Linked DNA regions of Homo sapiens: region 2 is linked to region 1. The links are contacts of gene promoters, found by promoter capture Hi-C in blood cells and fetal thymus (Javierre and others, 2016). All regions are on one chromosome and are shown on one strand. The core of a region is centred on a gene start or on the middle of the fragment in contact, and the rest is flanking DNA. Distances in the headings are between cores, read along the strand shown.

Region 1 (3,508 bases), core at 332-2,831:
AATATAACCAGACTAGGGTGAAACAATGTGGCTTATACTGACATGAAGATTTTTACAAAAATACATATAGTAATAAACTATCAAAAGATGTATCTTTACTGTAATAAAGCTAAGTCCAGCGTTACAGAAGTTGTGTATGGTAATCTCAAAATCACATTCAAGCATTTACAACCATCACACACACACACAACAAAAATGGGAAAGGAAATGGAACCTTAGCTTATGTTTTTCCCAGTTTGTTCTTTTTAGTTCAAGAGGCCCCTAAAACAAGAAAATTATAGATAAAATACCAAATGAAATAAAGTTTAGATTAAGTCACATTCAAAAGCTACAGGAAATCCTACAAAACGTAGTCTATGTCAGCTGGCATCTTACCATTCAAGAGAATTCTAAATTAATGCCGCACATAAATCAAGAAACAGGAAAGCTTACAACAACACAATGGAGTCACCCCACAACACACACACGAACAAATTAAATGAATACCTCATACTTTCTGGTATTTTTTGAATAATCAAAACTTAGGTTGAGAAATACCCATCTGTAAAGATCTATCTACTATAACCTATTTAAGAACTGTTGTAACAAATCTATTTCTGCTGCACTGAACAGATATTCCCACTATAGCACTGACACTGACTCTGATAAATTATCGAAGGACAATAGTAAAAACATCAGTTTCTTTTTAAATGACCAACAAGCCAACTCCATACAAAATCTGACGCGTCTGTATTTCAGCTGTTCCGCGGACTACGTTTCCTTGATCACAGCAGCAGCAGGCGACTCCCTAGCCGTCAGGGCTGACTTAGCGCCCTCCAACTCCCCGGGTCCGGGTTACCTTCATCACTCCATTGTCAAATCGCACTCCCACGCCTCGGTCCTCAGCCCCCATCCTGAGACTCTAGGGAGAGTCGGAAGTGGGAGAGAAATCCCCTCACCCACACTCCCTCACTGTAGGCTGTGGGTGTGTCGGTAGACGAATGCCTTGCCCAAACACAAATCGTCTGCGGAGACCCAGACCCTAAGTCACCACCGAGCCAGAGATAACCGGCCGGTCACCGACCCCAGCCTTCCGCGGCCGCAGCCCTTCCTCTTTCTCCCCTCCAGGCCGGCCCCTCCCCCGTTGCGCGCACGCGCGGCCTCCAATGGATCCCCTCCCCCCCCGTTCCCCTCACCTTAATCATTAGCCACCCTCTTCTCTTCCAGGGTCCGGGAATCACTGACCCAGGAAGGAAGACAGAAATGTAAGGCGTAAAGAGTAATGCGTCGAGAGCCAGCGATCTGCGCCTCAGACGTCGGCCTAATAGGCCCCTAGAGTCAAGAACAGTGTCTGTCACCGCCACCAAAACTGTACGTGCGGCAGCGCCTGGACTCGGCCCAGCTAAGCCGGCGTGGGTTCAGAATGCCTAATTTGGTCCCACAAGAACTCCTTCTCTGAAGCTGCGGGCGTTTCTACGCTGCGCAAACCGAACACCTCCTCGCCGTCGCCGCCACTGCCGCTGCTCCCCTACAGCCGCCGCCGCCGCTTCGCCGCCGCCGCCGCCTAACCAATTCCTCCCCTACCGAGGAGAGCACGACACTAGGGCTCTTTACGACAGTTCGGAAAGTGAGAGCGCAGTAGCCTTCACGCCTCCATTAACATCTGTTTGTTTCTGCGCTTGCTCGATTCCCGTTTCTCACCGTCCCGCCCCCTCGGTCCCGGCCCTCCCCCTTTGTACTGGTTTTATCAGTCTGTTGGCGAACTGAAAGGTGTCACAAAGCTCATTATTTAATTTTCTTTGGTGATTATGCGTTCAACATTTAAGCCAAATCTTGACTACATCTTGGTTCATTTTTTCGTAACTAAAAATTAACCAACTACAGAATTGATACATTTACAGATATACGTAAACAAAAACATCATGGGTTAGTGTCTTTCACAACAAATGATACCCATATCATATGCGCTAATGACATAAAGATCACGGCACCTCACTGTTAAAGTGAATTTGCTTCCGGAATCAGATCAAAAGTGGTCACATATCTCCTGCGAACTCGGGCTGTACAATCGCATAAGCCTCCTTGTTTATTTTATAAAAGTCAGTAGATAACAAATGCGTCATTATATGCATTAGGAGGATAGAGAGAGGATGAGCTTCAGAGTCCATCAGGCAGACTTCCTTTCAAAGTCCAGTGGTGCCACTTAAGAGTTCTCTGATTGATGAGATCCTTATAAATCTTAGTTTCCTCCTCTATAAATTGGGATAACGTATTTACCTCAAAAGGTTCTTGTTAGATTAAATGAGACAATTTATATAATGCTCTGAACATTACTTGCCAATTAAGTGTTCACTAAACATTAATTCCCTCCCTTTGCCATCAACTCATCTTTTTCAATACTTTTTTTGTTCACTCATATTTTCCGTATCATTCAGTAAGCAAATGATTTTGGCCGGGCACGGTGGCTCACGCCTGTAATCCCAGCACTTTGGGAGGCCTAGGCGGGTGGACTACCTGAGATCAGGAGTTCAAGACCAGCCTGGCCAACATGGTGAAACTCCTTCTCCACTAAAAATACAAAAACTAGCTGGGCGTGGTGGCGGACGCCTGTAATCCCAGCTACTCGGCAGGCTGAGGCAGGAGAATCGCTTGAGCCAGGGTGGCCGAGGTTGCAGTGAGCCATGATCAAGCCATTGCACCCCAGCCCGGGTGACAGGGAGACTCCGTCTCCAAGAAAAAAAAAAAAAAGGCTGGGCGCGGTGGCTCACGCCTGTAATCCCAGCACTTTTGGAGGCCAAGGCGGGCGGATCATGAGGTCAGGAGATGGAGACCATCCTGGCTAACACGGTGAAACGCTGTCTCTACTAAAAATACAAAAAATTAGCCGGGCGTAGTGGCGGGCGCCTGTAACCCCAGCTACTCGGGAGGCTGACACAGGAGAATTGCTAGGACCCGGGAGGCAGAGGTTGTAGTGAGTGCGAGATTGTGCCACTGCACTCCAGCCTGGGCGACAGAGTGAGATTCCGTCTCAAAACAAACAAACAAACAAACAAACAAAACACACACACACACACACACACAAATGATTTTAAAATTACAATAATGATCAAGGATAGCAGATTGTGTGGGAAAACTAAAAGAGCATTCGACTAGGATTTTCCTCAATCCTCCTATTTTCTCACTCTTAAACATAGAATTTTGCCCGGACTATCTTATCTTCTCCCTTGATTTTAACTGTTACTATCTCATGACTTCTCAAACCTGTATTTCCAGCTCTAACCTTTTTTCTGAAGCTTTTGACCTGTGTTCTTCAATTAGGTAGACACCAGCCATATGTGGCTGCTGAGCACTTAAAATGTGGCTAGACTCCCTCCTCTTCTCCCTCTCCCCTCCCCTTTTCCTTTTCCGTCTCCCTAAAAAAATAAATAAATAAAAATAATTGAGAAGTGCTTTAAGTGAAAAATACACATCGAATTTCAAAGGTACAATACAAAAAAAGACTGAAAAATCTCAGTACTTTTTAATATTT
Region 2 (3,508 bases), core at 640-3,139, 220 kb before region 1:
CACTTCAACAGTTGGAACCAAGGCTTCATCATTCATCATTATGCTGGGAAGGTATGGCCAATATCCATTTTAATGTCTATCTGTTTTAAGCCTTTGGGTTTGTGATCTGGTTTCTCATGAAGCAAATCATATGGCTCGCCGTATTTTATTGATTCAACAAACGGAATTTATTAACTATCAAAGGAAGCAAAACAAAAGATTGTATATACTACTGCATTTTTTTGTATGTACATTTATTTTTACATTGTAGAAGAAGCTACTACTTTTTTACAGCATATAAATGAACATAGGTATAAACCAGCAAGAATGAAAGAAATAGCATATATCTAATGAAAAGAGTCGGAATTTCTAGAACACAATAAATACCTACATCCTACTTTTTGGGAACCAAATGCCAACTACATATATATAACATGGCAAGTGCTGCTACATCAGAGGTACCAAAAATACTTAGGAATTGTAAATAAGTATCGTCCAGCACGTGGATGCTCAATAAAAGAGCTGGAGGACTAAATAAATAGGAAAATCACTCTACCTACTTTCCTGTTTCCATCTTTTAGGAATTCAAGTTTATTCAAAATTTCGTTATATAATCCTGTATCTATGATCTCTTCAATAATTTCGGAATGGTAGTTTTAGGCAACTTTAAAGCTTAAGCTTATTCTGAATTTCCCAGAGTGTTTTTGCACTTTTTTTCAGATGGGCCTCTTCTTCAGGGGTCAGCTTTATCTTTATAAGGTTGGTAATACCGTTCTCTCCCAGGATACAAGGAATACTGAGGAATACTTCTTCATCTATTCCATAGAGGCCCTTAATTATGGTGGAAACTGGATGTATTCTCCTAAGATTCTTCAAAATACTTTCTGTTAAATCGGCCACAGATAGGCCAATGGCCCAAGAAGTATAACCTTTCATTTTAATAATCTCATAGGCAGTTGCAGTCACTTCTTTGTGGACATTTTTCCATTGCTCAGGATCTTTATCAGTTCCTATATCAGAGTTCAGATCCTTCAAAGGGACACCAGCTATGTTCACTCCACTCCACACAGGAACACTTGAGTCTCCATGCTCTCCGAGGATCCATCCATGGCAGCTTTCAGAATGGATACCAAGCTTTTGTCCAATCAAGAAACGAAAACGAGCAGTATCCAGATTACAGCCGCTTCCAATAATACGGTTTTTGGGAAATGCACTCAACTTCCAAGCTACATAAGTTAAGATATCCACTGGATTGGAAACAATAATCAGTTTGCAGTGGGGGCTGTACTGGACAATACTGGAAATCATTAACTTGAAGATGGCCACATTTCGCTGGACTAAATTAAGGCGCGTTTCTCCCTTTTCTTGGCGTGCACCTGCTGTGATAATCACTAGGTTGGAGTTTGCTGTGACAAAGTAATCTTTGCTACAAACAATATTTGGCATTTTCGTGAAAGGGCTGCCATGTTGAAGATCCATCGTCTCACCCTTCAGTTTGTCTTCATCAAGATCCACAAGGGCAAGTTCATCACTCAAGCCTTTTAATAAGATGCTGATAGCGCAGGCCATGCCCACCGATCCAGTTCCTATGATGGAGACCTTACTGTGATGAACGGGCTTCTCGGAAGTGAAACGCTCAATAAGCTCACTCTTCACAGTCGCCATCTTGCTCACGGGGGTGAAGAGCCAGGTGCCGTTGAGCGGGATGCGCGTTGCTTGACGCGGACACAGGGCCATCCCCAGGCATAGGAAATTCGCTCCCACCGAGCTCACTCTCTGGCTGGCCCGCACAACAGGCACAGTCCAACTCATGGCTGCTCACTGAAGAAGTGGAGAGAGAGAATGGAAAAAAGCTGCTGATCCGAACGTTGAGACGCCAAGAGAGCCGTTGGCAGGACCTTCAGCACTCTACGGCAGGTGCGCGTGCCCCGCCCCCTGGCCCTCTACTGCGGCTGCGCGGGCCTTGCCAGAGTCTCCGACACGTGCTTTCCGTGGGTGCTCAGACTAAGGCAGTGAAGGGCTGCTTCTCTAGCAAGTGATTTCTGGAGTTAGTTTTGCTAAGAGTATTATCAATAGTTGACATGCTTAAGAGGCTAACCGAGATCCCTGGAATTACTAGTTTTTTATTTTTAATATGAATGCTGAGGAAACATGCTTCTGTTAACTACAGATGAAAATAAGGTTACGTTTTCTGAACCGTGACCCTGCCAGGAAGGATAGGGCTCTATGCTTTGCGTACTGGTGGCTGCCTGCACCATCTCCCAGTGTCCCAGAATTGGGCGCCTGCTTTCTGGTCTATGGCGCTGGAGGCCTATTTTGAAAGGATTCCACTGCCTTGGTGCCAGTCCTGGCCAGGACCCACCCTGGGACAGTCGGCTGGGGCTTCAGCAGGGTAGGGGCCGGCTGGGAGTCACTCCAGCACTAAATCTCAGCATACTACTGCATATTTTTGGAAAATGAATCACCCTGCTACATGTATTAGCTGCTGAATAAATGGATTTTCGTCTTGCCTCTTGCTGGAATCACAGACTGGCATTCCTTGTCTCCCCATGCCTACTGGTAGTATAAATCAAGGCCCAGAGTGCACTTTTGGTGTTCTTATAAAGCCCATCAGTATTGGGTGCCTACTGGATGCCAGGCTGTGTGGGGCTGCTGATGATAAAAAAGTTAAGTTGAGGTCGTGGTCTTGGGGACTTCCTAGTGCTATGGAAATCCCCTGGTCTCATCCATCATCCCAGCTGATCTCTTGTTAAACAGAGTATCTGAGCATGAGTTTCTGGCCAGATTGGTGCAACTTTGATACCACTTCTGGGAGAAACTGCAAAGCCTCAGATGACATGGCTCATTGCAGTGAATTACTGAGCATGAGGGGCTTCACTTTTGCTCTGGCTTAGCTAAAATTTAGGAAAAGTATTGAGTATGTCACTTAGACACCCCTATGGATCCACTGAAGAAGGGGTATGGGGACTTGAGAGCTGGAGTTCTGATTACGGATCAGCTGGGCCATCCAGGCAGCCAGATACTCATCAGCATCTGCAGGCCTTCCCCACTAAGTCAGCTAACAAGTAAGACGTGCACAGCCTTCCTGTGACAGTGCACAATGAAATCCCAAATGCAACATCTGGAAATCCACATGTTGTGGTGAGGGTAGCCATGACAGCTTTGGTTTTTTGTTTGGTGAAATTAGATTTTTTGTTCAATAAATGATTTTGTTCAATTAATTACATTTTGTTCAATGAAATTCGATTTCTTTCCATTCTTGGCCAGGTATCCTATGACATGGATGGCTTTTGTGAAAGGAACCGGGATGTGCTTTTTATGGATCTCATCGAGCTTATGCAGAGCAGCGAGCTGTAAGTATGTTTTGCCATAGCTGACAGGGGATATAGGTTTGATGAAATTTTCAATATGAAAACAAACTTATGAGCTGGGTGTGGTGGTGTGTTCCTATAGTCCCAGCTACTCAGGAGGCTAAGGCAGGAGGATCACTTGATCCTAGGAGTTTGAGGCTGCACTGAGCTGTGATCAC

The links. Contacts are between HindIII fragments. The CHiCAGO score rates a contact against its expected background, and 5 or more counts as called.
Region 2: a contact is called between the fragment with the promoter of LDHAL6B here and the fragment with the promoter of RNF111 in region 1, in 2 of 17 cell types (M2 macrophages and endothelial precursors). The highest score is 6.9, in M2 macrophages.

What each region holds. Positions count from the first base shown.
Region 1 is chr15:58,985,736-58,989,243 of GRCh38, reverse strand. RNF111 (ring finger protein 111) reads right to left here and starts at 1,581. Exons shown (of 14, transcript NM_017610.8): 1 at 1,176-1,581. RefSeq lists a silencer at 698-862. The HindIII fragment of the contact is 2,845 bases long and covers 430-3,274 here.
Region 2 is chr15:59,205,224-59,208,731 of GRCh38, reverse strand. It overlaps LDHAL6B (lactate dehydrogenase A like 6B), which reads right to left and starts at 1,889. Exons shown (of 1, transcript NM_033195.3): 1 at 144-1,889. The coding sequence starts at 1,791. The coding sequence ends at 646. It overlaps MYO1E (myosin IE), which reads left to right. Exons shown (of 28, transcript NM_004998.4): 14 at 1-51; 15 at 3,247-3,332. The HindIII fragment of the contact is 11,888 bases long and covers 1,116-3,508 here.